Linked DNA regions of Homo sapiens: regions 2, 3 and 4 are each linked to region 1. The links are contacts of gene promoters, found by promoter capture Hi-C in human tissues and cell types (Jung and others, 2019). All regions are on one chromosome and are shown on one strand. Each heading gives the region's core, a stretch centred on a gene start or on the middle of the fragment in contact. The rest is flanking DNA. Distances are from core to core; before and after follow the strand shown. Region 1 holds the start of MCM10 (minichromosome maintenance 10 replication initiation factor). Region 2 overlaps NUDT5 (nudix hydrolase 5). Region 3 overlaps CDC123 (cell division cycle 123). Region 4 has its middle 71 kb from the start of CDC123.

What was found. The method cuts DNA at HindIII sites, captures the fragments that hold promoters and counts their contacts. A contact is called where the count stands out against the background at its distance.
Region 2: a fragment that was not itself captured here is called in contact with the fragment with the promoter of MCM10 in region 1 in 1 of the 25 tissues and cell types used here (thymus).
Region 3: a contact is called between a fragment that was not itself captured here and the fragment with the promoter of MCM10 in region 1, in 2 of the 25 tissues and cell types used here (IMR-90 fibroblasts and dorsolateral prefrontal cortex).
Region 4: a fragment that was not itself captured here is called in contact with the fragment with the promoter of MCM10 in region 1 in 1 of the 25 tissues and cell types used here (H1 embryonic stem cells).

Annotation. Positions count from the first base shown.
Region 1 is chr10:13,159,924-13,163,605 of GRCh38, reverse strand. It overlaps MCM10 (minichromosome maintenance 10 replication initiation factor), which reads right to left and starts at 2,048. Exons shown (of 20, transcript NM_018518.5): 1 at 2,000-2,048. RefSeq lists silencers at 1,784-1,963, 1,986-2,299. The HindIII fragment of the contact is 5,218 bases long and covers 1,115-3,682 here.
Region 2 is chr10:12,187,063-12,190,744 of GRCh38, reverse strand. The region is part of intron 1 of NUDT5 (nudix hydrolase 5); the gene reads left to right. Among named protein-coding and RNA genes, the nearest start is that of NUDT5, 7.0 kb to the left of the region's middle. RefSeq lists an enhancer at 1-667. The HindIII fragment of the contact is 4,727 bases long and covers 1-3,682 here.
Region 3 is chr10:12,203,061-12,206,742 of GRCh38, reverse strand. All of the region lies in intron 2 of CDC123 (cell division cycle 123), which reads right to left. Among named protein-coding and RNA genes, the nearest start is that of CDC123, 8.7 kb to the right of the region's middle. The HindIII fragment of the contact is 5,747 bases long and covers 1-3,682 here.
Region 4 is chr10:12,265,055-12,268,736 of GRCh38, reverse strand. No RefSeq gene overlaps it. Among named protein-coding and RNA genes, the nearest start is that of CDC123, 71 kb to the right of the region's middle. The HindIII fragment of the contact is 6,741 bases long and covers 1-3,682 here.

The sequences.
Region 1 (3,682 bases), core at 799-3,298:
CTTACTGTATGATTCTACTTAGGTGGAGCCTTAGTGACAATCAGGATTTTGATTCAATACTAGTCAGCAAAGCACAGAGAAACAGCGTAGCTAATTAAGACAAAGTTGTATCACTTTGTGCACTTCTCTTTTCATTTAAGGTTATTTTTTAAACTGCAAGTAAGAAAGTATACATTTTTCTAGGCTCTTATTTAACTTACATGTGCTCTTTGGCAAGTTCAATGTCAAGGAACTAATTACAGTGATTATGGTACTTTCTTTTCTTTTTTTAGACAGGATCTCGCTCTGTCGCTGGGGCTGGAGTGCAGTGGTGCTATTGGCTCACTACAACCTCCGCCTCCCAGGCTCCAGTGATTCTCCTGCCCCAGCCTCCCAAGTAGCTGGGATTACAAACGTGCACTACCACACCCGGCTAATTTTTGTGTTTTTTGTAGAGACAGGGTTTCGCCATGTTGCCCAGGCTGGTCTTGAACTCCTGATGTCAAGTGATCCATCAGCCTTGGACTCCCAAAGGTGCTTTTTTTTTTTTTTGAGACGGAGTCTCTGTCACCCAGGCTGGAGTGCAATGGGGCGATCTTGGCTCACTGCAAGCTCCGCCTCCCGGGTTCACGCCATTCTCCTGCCTCAGCCTCCCGAGTAGCTGGGACTACAGGCGCCCGCCACCACGCCCGGCTAATTTTTTGTATTTTTAGTAGAGATGGGGTTTCACCGTATTAGCCAGGATGGTCTCGATCTCCTGACCTGGTGATCCGTCCGCCTTGGCCTCCCAAAGCGCTGGGATTACAGGCGTGAGCCACCGCGCCTGGCCGCTTTTTAAAAATTCATTCAACCAACATTTCCACGGATCCCTCATGTGCCACACACTGTGCTATCTACTGGGGAACCTATTGGACAGTAAGCTTCCTGAGCGTTAGGAGCAAACTGTCTCGTTCAAGTCTGTAACCGGCCTTGCCTTCCCCCAAAATGAAACTGTGCACCCTCCCTCGCCCTCAAATCCACGGCCACTGACAAGTACTGTGGTCCCATCTCCAAAACACTGCTCAAATCTGCCACTTCTCTCCAACTTCACTGCCAGAACCCTAGGCCAAGCCACCGTCAACCTTTAACCCAATGACTGTGTTAGCTTTCTATGTTGGTCTCTTTGTCCCCGTGCAATCTGTTCTGCATACGACAGCCACGGTAATCTTCCCTTTCCTTAGTAACCTTTAGGAACATAAATCAGATCATGGGGGTCCCTTCATTGAAATTCTTTAATGATTTTCCATTGCCCTTAGAAAAAATCTACAAAGCCTGCGAGGCAATGATTCATATTCTCTCTCTCTTTCCAAGCTTTCTACTCCCTCACATTTTCCACAATCCACCACGTCCAATTCTACCCACCCCGACACCCATAACGATGCTCCAGCCGGGCCAGCCCGCTTCCACCTTCTGGAACACACTAAGCTGCTTTGAGGTCTCAGGCTCTGTCGAAGAAAGCTCCCCCCAGGTCCTTCTCGCCCTTCGGTCTCCACTTACTCATCTTTCTGAGACTTTCTGGACCACCCTGAGTCGTCCACTGTCGTGCATTTGTTTACTACCTGCTCGTGCCTTTAAACTGTAAGCGCTGTGAAGGCAGCGGAAATGTGATCCGAGCCATGCACACCGTCCGCATTCAATAATCATTGGCAAATCATGAATACGAGAAACCAATGAATGAATGAATGAATGAATGAATAAAAGAAAGCCCAGGCGGCAGGCACTTGGCAAGCACTTAAAAGGCTGCGTTTAAAAGGAAGAACCCGATTCCTTAGTAGACGGCCAGCAACTCCCAGCCCCCGGCCCGGCCATGCCAGCTCCGAGCGGTCCCAAGCTGCCGCCAAATCCAGATCGCGCCCACCCGAGCTCCCGGGACCCCGCGCCTCTAGCCTCGGACCCCTTGCAACCCGCGCAGAGACGTGCGAGGCGGCCCCGGCCCCGCCGCCCGAGGGTCACACGCACGCCCGGGGCCCGCGCTCCTCACCCGATGCCGGGACGCCTTCTTCGTTCACAGCTGAACCCGCCAAAATTCCAACCGGATCCCGCCCCTGCCTTGACGTCAGACGCACGCGGCTGTGGGGCAGCACTGACTGGCTACGCCAGCGAATCCCGGCCCTGGCACAGAGCAATCGGATTGGTTTACGTCATTGGACGCCCTCTTTGTTGGGGGCAAGGGACCTTCCTGTCGGTAGAAGCCAGTCTCCTTTAGGTAAAATAGAGTGTCTGGCGCCCCCTGGTGCCGGGAAGTTTAAGTCATCCCACCCAGTATTTTCCCTGCGGTCCCATCCCACCTCAACTCCTGACGCTCTGGGACCGACTGTTCCTTTGTCAGCCTTATGTCCATTCGAAATGTTTGGGCTCAGGACCAAACAGATCCGGTCCACTTTTACCCTGTCTGACCTTGGGGAAGTGACTTATCTCTCTGAGTTTCCCCTTCACCATCTGTGCAGTGAGGGAAAGGGTAGATGACATCTTTTACACTGAAACCACCATTTCCCGAGTAATTCCTGTTCCATAGATTTTGGGACTTCTAAGGGGCGTCAGGGCTGAAGAGAACTTATCAGCAGACCATATCTTTCACAGATTTTTTTTTCAGTAAAATTCAGGCCTCTTTATGTATTTACATTCTAAAAAATAGTGTTTGTACATAATACTAAGAACATAGTTTCTAAATGCAGAATAACATTTAGCTTTTACATAATTTCAAGGGATTGATAGCAGAAGAGACTTTGATGGACCAAATGGCCACTTTAAGTCTTTCCCCCCTTTTCCTCCTTGCAGACACTGTTCAGGCACTGCAGTTCCCCCACTAATAATCCCTTTGGTATAAGATCCTATCTCTATCCACTACGTACTTTCATTTTCAGAACAATTAAAATCGACTTTAGGAAGACTGAAGATAAACAGTCCTGATGCCATCTACGTTGACTTTTTTCTGTGTCCTAATGGAATATTACTGCTCCATTTATGAGCTCAGCCCTATTACTTAAACCTATATTGGCTCAGGAATAGGAATACAACCATTTCTGAGAGCTGCTAGTGTTAAAAATTCATAGTAATGGAGGAACTCTAGTAATCAAATTGAAAAAGTATGTTTAAATGCGTACTTTTAAACATACGGCACTAAGGCCGGGCACGGTGGCTCACCCCTGTAATCCCAGCACTTTGGGAGGCCGAGGTGGGTGGATCACGAGGTTAGGAGTTCGAGACCAGCCTGGCCAACATGGTGAAACCCCATCTCTACTAAAAACACACACAACACAAAAATTAGCTGGGCGTAGTGGTGCGCGTCTGTAATCCCAGCTACTTGGGAGGCTGAGGCGGAGAATCGCTTGAACCTGGGAGGTGGCGATTGCAGTGATGAGCCGAGATCTCGCCACTGCACTCCAGCCTGGCGACAGAGCCAGACTCTGTCTAAATAAATAAATAAATAAATAAATAAATAAATAAATAAATGCATCACTACATCTAGTTATTAAAAAAAAAAGATTCGTCATAGATTTATTCTTAGCCATTATGCAGAAATTCCTTGACTAATTCTGATCAGTACTCTGAAGTTCTTTTCTTCACCTTCACTTTCCAGGTCCTCTTTGCATCCAGTTCCGGGCAAGGAGTCAGAAACAGAACCAACCTAAGCCCGCAAACCTTCCTTAAGTGAAGAATCAAG
Region 2 (3,682 bases), core at 818-3,317, 970 kb after region 1:
CCCAGCTGTTCAGGAGGCTGAGGCAGGAGAATTGCTTCAACCTGGGAGGTGGAGGTTGCAGTGAGCCGAGATCATGCCATTGCACTCCAGCCTGGGTGTTGCAGCGAGATTCAGTCTCAAAAAAAAAAAAAAAAAAAAGGCTTTATCATTTTCCTCACTGCCTCCCAAGGGGATGTGTGTGTCCCTCCTTTAAAACATCCTGGTATGGTGGTGTCTCTGAGGCAGGTCTTTGCCCCAGATGTGCTTGCTAAACTGTAACGTGCTCAAGGGCAAGCATAGTGGTCAGTGTGCACTGAGTATATACACAGACGTTTCCACTGCTGGTGCTCTCGAAGCTAGTTAGAGACTGCTAGTTAGCCTGCCACTGTGCAAGACGTCTAAAAATCTTACAGCATTTCCCCTCACTAGTGTTTTTTTTATGCTCTGGAGAATTACACATCCAACACATCCTAGACCTTCAGTGTTCAAACTGAACTGAGTTAAAACGATTTATGAGAATTAAAACAGCTTGTGACTTTAAAGACTAAGGAAAATCATAAATGAAATTGTAGAACACTCGCTGGCGCGGTGACTCACGCCTGTAATTCCAGCACTTTGGCAGGCCGAGGCGGGTGGATCACGAGGTCAGGAGATCGAGACCATCCTAACACGGTGAAACCCCGTCTCTCCTAAAAATACAAAAAATTAATCAGGCATGGTGGCAGGTACCTGTAATCCCAGCTACTTGGGAGGCTGAGGCAGGAGAATGGCATGAACCCAGGAGGCGGAGCTTGCAGTGAGCGGAGATCGCGCCACTGCACTCCAGCCTGGGCGACAAGGCAAGACTCTGTCTCAAAAAAAAAAAAAAAAATTGTAGAACACTCAACATCGTGTACATGTATCTTTTTCATACCATACACATATTGGCAATATGCAAATTACCTTAAATTCTAACTAATGAAGTGGATAAAATTTATATCAAAGTTTGCTTTTAAATCTTGAAATAGCGTTGAGTCAGTGAAGGCAAACTCCGTTGCAGTGGCGGAGACGCTGGCTTACAAAGCACGGAATTTAAAGCTCATTTCTCGTTCTTTCTGCAGCGTGTTGCTGGCAGTGACTGGCCCCCGAATGGCACTATTTGGCTTCTGCTTTTGAAATGGTGCTAAAAACAACATTCCTTTTCTGTTTCTAAAAATTTCTGAGGTACTTTTACAGTCCTTCTGAAATGTTTGGGAATCTCATAGTTAAGAATATGCTCTTGAAATAGCTCATTTTTGTCATTCACGGAATCAGTGGATTGCTGCACGATACTGTTTCCCTTTGAGGCTGATTGCATTCCAAAGAAATACTCTCTTTTAGCGGCCAGGCACGGTGGTTCACGCCTGTAATCCCAGCACTTTGGGAGGCTGAGGCTGGTGGATCACCTGAGGTCAGGAGTTCGAGGCCAGCCTGCCCAACATGGCAAAACCCCATCTCTACTAAAAATGTAAAAATTAGCCGGGTGCAGTGGTAGGAGCCTGTAATCCCAGGTACTCGGGAGGCTGAGGCAGGAGAATCGCTTGAATCCGTGAGGCAGAGGTTGCAGTGAGCCGAGATCATGCCTTTGCACTCCAGCCGGGCAACAAGAGCGAAACTCCATCTCAAAAAAAAAAGTTTACCTAATAAATTATCATCTATGGTACTTTCAAAGGAATAAGTGCCTGTTTTCTTAGTAGGGCTGCAGGTTTCAATATGCTAATGTCTGTCTCTAAATATTTAAACTTCTACGTGGTTTACTTCCTTATTGCTTTCAGGTCTCCATTCAGAAGTCACCAAATTAAACAGGCCTTGCCTGATCACTCCGTGTAGATTACTCTTCCCATCTTCCCCACACTTCTCATCCTTTTTAATCTTTCTTCATGAAACGCTGAGTCACTTGACATAAATTTTGTGTTCTTCCTCACTGTTTTTCCTTTCTCCTCACTGGAAAATGAGGTCCGGGGGAGTGAGGGTCTTTGTCCCTCTCACCACCACTTTTTTTTTTTTTTTTTTTTTTTTAGATGGAGTCTTGCTCTGTCGCCAGGCTGCAGTGCAGTGGCACGATCTCAGCTCACTGCAACCTCCATCTCCTGGGTTCAAGCCATTCTCCTCCCTCAGCCTTCCCTGTAGTTGGGGCTACAGGCGCACCCCACCACGTCCAGCTAATTTTTGTATTTTTAGTAGAGACAGGGTTTCACCATGTTGGCCAGGATGGTCTCCATCTCTTGACCTCGTGATCCACCCGCCCTGGCCTCCCAAAGTGCTGGGATTGTAGGCGTGAGGCGTGAGCCACCGCACCCGGCCTCACCGCCACTTTCCTAAAACATCATCTCACCTTTCACAGGTTGGCCACAAGGGTTACCTATGATAGTCAATCAGATATTTGATTTGTAAACGCACTTTATGAATATTCATACAGTTGGTTTTGTTATTGATTGTATTTTAGAATAGGGAAGCTTGCTGTCTTGGGGACAAATTGAAGATCAGATGGGTAGTATGATCACTTTGGGTCCCAGAAGAAACAAAGAGCAGACTCACTTTTTCCTTTAGGACAGTTGGGAAGAGAGTTGATGCTGGGTGGGCTGTATTTTCTTTGAAGCCGAAGTTAGGTGGGGTAGGTTAGAGAACCGTGGAACGTAAGAGTGCAGTGGCGTGATCTCGGCTCTCTGCAACCCCCAACTCCTGGGTCCAAATGACCCTCCTGCCTCAGCTTCCTGAGTAGCTGGGACTACAGGTGCCCACCACCACACCCGGCTAATTTTTTTATTTTTTATTTTTGTGGAGACAGGGTTTTGCCATGTTACCCAGGCTGGTCTCAGACTCTTGGTCCCCCAAAGGGCTAGGATTCCAGGTGTGAGCCACTGTGCCTGGTCCAAGTAACAGTTCTTAAAAGAAACAACAGAGAAAACACAGGGGAGGAAATCATCAGTGAAGTCGTTCAAGAAAAAAATTCCCTGTAAAGAAGCATAGTAAGAAGTTTCCAGATTGAAAGGACCCACTTGACTTCCCAGTACAATAACATCGACATGAAAGTGACTAACTACAAGCTTCCAGAGGAGGAAGACAGGTCACATGGCAAAAAGATCAAGAATAAGAATAGCTTTGGACTTCTCAACAGCAGCACCAGAAGTAAGACAACTAAGCAATGCCTTACAGTTTCATAGACAACTGGCTTTGGGTCTATAATTCTATATACAGCTGAATTAACAACCATGTGTGTGGGTAAGAAAAAAAGACTTTGACCTTCGGACAGGCAAGGTCCGAAAATGAAGGAATAAAGAAAGAGGAAATAATAATATACAATAAATGGGATAAGGGCCTGCTCTTTTCATAACAGAACTTGTAGTACTACTCGATCCTTTCTCTGCAACTATGACTTTGATACATGCTGAAACTTAAAAGTAAGTGGGGAGGTGGGTCCAGTGGCTCATGCCTGTAATCCCAGCACTTTGGGACACCGAGGCGGGAGGAGGATCGCTTGAGCCCGGGAGTCTGAGACCAGCCTGTGAAACATAGTGAGACCCCACCTCTACCAAAAGTTTAAAACATTAGTTGGCTGTGGTAGCATGCACCTGTAATCCCAGCTACTCAGGAGGCTGAGATGCGAGGAGCACGTGAGCTTGGGAGGTAGAGGCTACAGTGAGCCATGATTTCGCCACTGCACTCCAACCTGTGCAACAGAGTG
Region 3 (3,682 bases), core at 383-2,882, 960 kb after region 1:
TTGTGATCCGCCCTCCTTGGCCTCCTAAAGCACTGGGATTACAGGCATAAGCCACCGCATCTGACCTCATGCCCAGATAATTTTTGTATTTTTACTAGAGATGGGGTTTCGCCATGTTGGTCAGTCTGGTCTCAAACTGCTGGCCTCAGATAATCGAACCGCCTTGGCCTCCCAAAGTGCTGGGATTACAGGCATGAGCCACTGCACCCGGCCTTCCCCAAGTTTTAATCAACTCTTTGTAATTCTTGCTTTTCCAGATTCACAAAGCTAAGAACCAGTCAAAGCTAAGAACTGTTCTATAGTGGAAATACTAACACACTGTCAGCGTGTGAATCCCTGCCCAAGGGGCCAGCCTTTCTCTCTTACGTCTCTCTTTAAATGCCACATAATATTTTCAAATGCAACATTATCTTTAACATGGCTGCTTACCTAATCTTACAATATAAGATGAAATATGAAAATGTATTCTACCACTCTAAAAATCACTTACCATATTTGTTAGTATAACAACATACATTTTAAAAAACATACTTGTTATCAAGGTATTCATATAGTTCTTCAGAAATTATTGCAGTGCCTACTGTAAAGTATGACAAATTTTATTCACTGTAAAAGGTGACAATGTATAAAAATATGCAAGTTTGGCCAAGTACGGTGGCTCACGCCTGTAATCCCAGCACTTTGGGAGGCCAAGGCGGGTGGATCATGAGGTCAGGAGTTCAAGACTAGCCTGGCCAAAATAGTGAAACCCCATCTCTACTAAAAATACAAAAAAAATTAGCTGGGCGTGGTCGCAGGCACCTGTAGTCCCAGCTACTCAGGAGGCTGAGGCAAGGGAATCGCTTGAACCCGGTAGGCAGAGGTTGCAGTGGGCCAAGATCGTGCCCCTGCACTCCAGCCTAGGTGACACAGTGAGACTCTGCCTCAAAAAAAAAAAAAAAGTGAAAGTTTATTAGACTTGGCTTTCTAAGGTAACCCTCTGCATGCAGAGAACTAAATGGATAAAGTATGGTGCTAATATTTAGGATGCTATATTTTCTATATTACAACTTACACAGAGCTGGCACACCAGAGCAGTGGCTCTAGAGGCAGGCAGACAGAGTTTAAATATCTCAGTTCTGCCACTGTCAGCCAAGAACTTTGCATCAATATGCCATCTATAAAACTGGGAAAATAGCAACTACTTCACAGAATTGTGAAGAATCAAAATATGAATATGCCTAATGTATTTTATAATTGGCATCTACTGGTTGAGGATCCTATATCCAAAATGCTTGGGGTCAAAAGTGTTTGGGATTTTGGAGTATTTGCATATATATGAGATATCTTAGGGATGGGACCCAAGTCTAAACGTAAACTCCTGTTTGTTGCAGCACTGTTTACAATAGCTAAGATTTGGAAGCCACCTAAGTGCTCACCAACTGATGATGGATAAAGAAAATGTGGTACATATACACAATGGAGTACTATTCAGTCATTAAAAAAGAATGAGATCCAGTCGTTTGCAACAAAATGGATGAAACTGGAGATCATTATGTTAAGTGAAGTAAGCCAGGCACAGGAAGACAAACACCACGTTTTCACTTATCTGTGGGATCTAAAAACTAATTGAACTCATGGATATAGAGAGTAGAAAGATGGTTAGCAAAGGCTGTGAAGGGTAGTAGGGGACTGTGAGGAGGTGGGGGTTAATGAGTACCAAAAAAAGTAGAAAGAATGAATAAGACCTTTTTTTTTTTTTTTTTTTTTTGATATGGAGTCTCACTCTGTCATCCAGGCTGGAGTGCAGTGGCACGATCTCGGCTCACTGCAGCCTCCATCTTCCAGGTTCAGGTGATTCTCTTGCCTCAGCCTCCTGAGCAGCTGAGATTACAGGCGCCTGCCACCATGCCCAGCTAATTTTTGTAGTTTTAGTTGAGACGGGGTTTCACCATGTTGGGCCAGGCTGGTCTTGAACTCCTGACCTCAGGTGATCTGCCCACCTGAGCCTCCAAAAGTGCTGGAATTACAGGCATGAGCCACAGCACCCGACCACAGACCTACTACTTGACAGAACAATAGAGTGACTATAGTCAATAATAACTGTACATCTAAAAATAAAGACTGTAATTGGATTGTTTGCAACTTAATGAATAAATGCTTGAGGGGATGGACACCCCTTTCTCCACGATGTGCTAATGTCACATTGCATTCCTGGATCAAAACATCTCTTGTTCCCCATAAATATGTACACTATGTACCCACAAAAACTAAAAATTAAAAAATTTAAAAAAATCATTTATGTGTCAGTGTCACATACATCTTATACACATGGCTCAAAGGTAATTTTATACAATATTCAGAAAGCAAAAATGTCACTATCTCAGCACCCATCTGGACAGATTTCAGATTTTCTAATTAGGGATGCTCAACTCATTTTACTATTCAGCCTTAAGGGAGACAAGGTCAGGAAAGAACTCGTGACCAAGAAGAAACAATGAGGATTAGTGCCTGGAAGGGAGGTACCACCTGCGTCAGACCCAGTGTGTGGGCTCAGTTCAAGTATCACCTTACTGTAAACACTTTCTGGATGACCCCAGCTCACAGTGATTAATTAAACCCCAAATACATTACTTATCAGAATACCTGATACTTTTTTTTTTTTTTTTTTGAGACAAGGTCTTGCTCTGTTGCCCAGGCTGGAGTGCAGAGGCATGATCATAGCTCACTGCAGCCTCCAATTCCTGGGTTCAAGCCATCCTTGTGTGTCAGCCTCCTGAGCAGCTGGGACTACAGGTGTGTGCCAACACGCCCAGCTAATTTCTTATTTTTTTGTAGAGATGGGGCCCCACTATGTTGGCCAGACTGGTCTCCATCTCCTGGCCTCAAGTGATCCTCTTACCTCCGCCTCCTAAAGTGCTAGATTACAGGCATGAGCCACCACAGCTGGTTGATGCTTTTATTCAAAAACATTTTTCGCAACACAACTCAAGACATTTATTTATTTATTTATGTTTGACTTGCTAATAAGCCTAGACTCCTACGGTAGGATGCCCTGCTCATCTTGTTACGCTAGTATCAAGCTTGGTGCCCGTTTCCTTGGTGCCCATCTCATACTAGGCATGCAATAACTGTTCAGTGAAATTGAATCACTGTCTCTATCAGAAAAGCACATTGCCAGCCTCCTTTCCTACACCCACAGCAGGCAACGAGAATCAAACCAAGCATGCTTTCTCACCGAACCCTGGATGCAGCCTCAGAATCCTCTACATATCACTCCAGGAAACCATTACCATTAGATCTGAGTCGGCAAACAAGGTAAACTAGTCATCATACTTGGCCTATTCTATTCACTGAACTCAGTAGAGGTTACCATGGAGAGAAAGTAGGATAAGCATGTTCATTCACTCATTCAACCAATATTTATTGAACCCAGACTATGTGCTAAATTCTAACTGTAAACAAGACTATACCTTATAGAGTCTGGAAAGAAAGGCATGTACTATATGTGGAAGTAATGGAGGATGAGGCATGAAGAATTAGGGTCCATGGCAGACCTCCACAGCCATCTCCCACTTTCTTGTGAAGTACAAAGAGCTTCCGGATAGCTGAACACATGGAGCTTCTGGAAGGTGGCACGTGTAGGTAGGGCATGGAAGATCTGCATCCCTTCCCCTACACCTCACCCTACGCATCTCTTCAT
Region 4 (3,682 bases), core at 841-3,340, 890 kb after region 1:
TTATCAAAGTATTTCTTCCTACCACTTGGAACAGTCTATCTGATTTTTCATTTTATTATTTTTCTTTTTTTTTTTTTTTTTGTATAGACAGGGGCTCACTACATTGCCCAGGCTGGTCTTGAATTCCTGGCCTCAAACAAGCCTCCCACCTCGGCCTCCCAAAGTGTTGGGATTACAGGCATGAGCCACCATGTCCAGCCTAGTCTAACTGATTTAAAAACACACACGCACACACACATTTTAATTGACAGATAATAGCTGTACATATTTACAGGGTAGATAGTGATGTTGCAATATACATAATGTACAGTGATCAGGTCAGGGTAATTCCTATATCCACAATTGCTGGAAAAGGAGGAGAGACCCAAGAGACCAGTCTTTTGGACTTGAGTTTTTGAAAATATATATTTAATTTTAAAAACTTGCAAAACAGGCCAGGCACGGTGGCTCACGCCTGTAATCCCAGCACTTTGGGAGGCCGAGGCTGGCAGATCACCTGAGGTCAGGAGTTAGAGACCACCCTGGCCAACATGGTGAAATCCCATCTCTACTAAAAATACAAAATTAGCTAGGCATGGTGGTGCATGCCTGTAATCGCAGCTACTTGGGAGGCTCAGGCAGGGGAATTGCTTGAACCTCGGAGGCAGAGGTTGCAAGTGAACTGACATCATGCCACTCCACTCCAGCCTGAGCAACAGAGTGAGTGAGACACAATCTAAAAAAAAAAAAAAAAAAAAAAGGCCAGGTGCGGTGGCTTACCCCTGTAATCCTAGCACTTTGGGAGGCCGAGGTGGGCGGATCACAAGGTCAGGAGATTTAGACCATCCTGTGAATGGTGAAAACCCCGTCTCTACTGAAAATACAAAAAAAAAAAAAAAAAAAAAAAAAATTAGCCGGTCCTGGTGGTGGGTGCCCGTAGTCCCAGCTACTCCAGAGGTTGAGGCGGGAGAATGCCGTGAACCTGGGAGGCGGAGCTTGCAGTGAGCTGAGATTGCGCCACCGCACTCCAGCCTGGGAGACAGAGCGAGACTCCGTCTCAAAAAAAAAAAAAAAAGGCTGGGTGTGGTGGCTCATACCTGTAATCCCAGCACTTTGGGAGGCCGAGGCAGGCAGATCACAAGGTCAAGAGATTGAGGCCATCCCGGCTAACAGGGTGAAACCCCGTCTCTACTAAAAATACAAAAATTAGCTGGGCGTGGTGGCACGTGCCTGTAGTCCCAGCTACTCGGGAGGCTGAGGCAGGAGAATCGCTTGAACCCGGGAGGCGGAGGTTACCTTGAGCCAAGATTGCGCCACTGCACTCCAGCCTGGCGACAGAGTGAGACCCCGTCTAAAAAAAAAAAAAGGCAAAACAGATACACAAAAATAGAAAATCTAAATGGTTCTATATTTATTTATTTATTTAAGTCTCTCTCGGTCGCCCAGGCTGGAGTGCAGTGGCGCGATCTCGGCTCACTGCAAGCTCCGCCTCCCGGGTTCACGCCATTCTCCTGCCTCAGCCTCCCGAGTACCTGGGACTACAGGCACCCGCCACCACGCCCGCCTAATTTTTTTGTATTTTTAGTAGAGACGGGGTTTCACTGTGATAGCCAGGATGGTCTCGATCTCCTGACCTCGTGATCCGCTGGCCTCAGCCTCCCAAAGTGCTGGGATTACAGGCGTGACCACCGCGCCAGGCTATATATATATATTTTTTAATCAAATCTATAATAGAGGCCTTTCCTAAAAAGAAAAAAAAAGCCTTTTGAACATATATATTGCAGAATTACATAGGATTACATTTCTACACCAATTATATTGCCATTTAAAAATATTTCTCACTTGGTTACATAAAAATATTATTCTACAACAGTGTAATATGCATTTTTTATTCTGTCTTGAACATCTTTTTATATATTTATTGTATATTTGTGTTTTTTCCTTTATGAATTGCCTGTATAACATCCTTAACCCAATCTTATTTTGTTTAATTTTGAAGTCCTTTTATTTGTATGTTAACTATATTAAGCTTTGATCTGGCATATTTGTTACAAATTTTTTTTTCTATTAGTTTGGCTTTTGATTTGGTAAATGACATTTTAAAACATGCACTTGTTTTTAAATTGTATTTGAAATTTTTAAAAAAGAATAGTCTACCTGAGAAGACCTCTGAGAAATATGATTTTCCATCTCATTACAGCTCCATGACACTGTAGCGTGCCTTACAGATTGGCACCGCTAACAATTATACAGCGAGCTGGTCTACCTCTCAATGCCTCTTGATCATGAGCTCTCAGGAAATGACAGCTCCGGGAATTAATATCCAGAAGACGAGTCTTGGCCGGGCGCGGTGGCTCACACCTGTAATCCCAGCACTTTGGGAGACCGAGGCAGGCGGATCACAAGGTCAGGAGAGCGAGACCACCCTGGCCAACATGGTGAAACGCTGTCTCTACTAAAAATACAAAAATTAGCTAGGTGTGGTGGTGTGTGCCTGTAATTCCAGCTCTTTGGGAGGCTGAGGCAGGAGAATCGCTTGAACTAGGGAGTCGGAGCTTGCAGTGAGCCGAGATCGCACCACTGCACTCCAGCCTGGCGACAGAACGAGACTCTGTCTCAAAAAAAAAAAAAAAAAAAAAAAAAAAAAGCCTCTGGGCCCACCTCTTCTCTTCAGGGCTCCTACAGATAACACATTGGTCCTGGCCACTAAAATGTCCCAATGCCAGCTGAGAGAGGAAGATAAGAACTGGCAGGCCCCCCTTTCCTCTGGAAGTTGTGTCATATTCTGTGAACTTGGCCTCAAGAGGGAGATAAGAACTGGGTAAGGCTCACTTCCCCACGGAGATGGTTTCATGCCCAGTAGACACTTGCCCCGAGTCCGGAGAAGCAGTAGGTGCTTTGCAAATATTTACCTAGCTACATGGCAACCGGGCAGTGCTGTCAGAGTTCTGTGTCATTTCTGGGCCACACGCCCCACACCCCATTCTCTCCTCTTGCATTACAAAGGCTACGTCCCTTCCCACAGCTACCTTTCCACAAGTGTTCAAAACCACGTGAAGGTCAGACTCCTTTGATTTCTAAATCATGCCCTTAGCCAAGATTGAACTTCCAATAGAGAAAATTTTAGGTTTGCTTTCATGTGTGAGGTGAAATGACTGTCCCTTTGTCAGAGGCGTTTGAACCAGAGCAACTCCATCTTAAACAGGAGCTGGGTAAAATAAGGCTGAGACCTACTGGGCTGCATTCCCAGATGGTTAAGGCATTCTAAGTCACAGGATAAGATAGGAGATCCGCACAAAACACAGGTCATAAAGACCTTGCTGATAAAACAGGTTGCAGTAAAACAGTGGCCAAAACCAACATGGCGAGGACAGTGTCCTCTGGTGGTCCTCACTGCTACACTCCCACCAGCGCTATGACAGTTTACAAATGCCAAGGCCACATCAGGAATTACCCTGTATGGTCTAAAAAGGGGAGGCATGAATAATCCACCGCTTGTTTAGCGTATCATCCAGAAATAACCATAAAAATGGACAACCAGCAGCCCCCTGCGCTACTCTATCTATGGAGTAGCCATTCTTTTATTTCTCTACTTTCTTAATAAACTTCCTTTCACTTTACTCTATGGACTCGCCCTGAATTCCTTCTTGTGCGAGGGTCTCTTGGGGTCTAGATCGGGACCCCTTTCCGGTAACACCTTAGA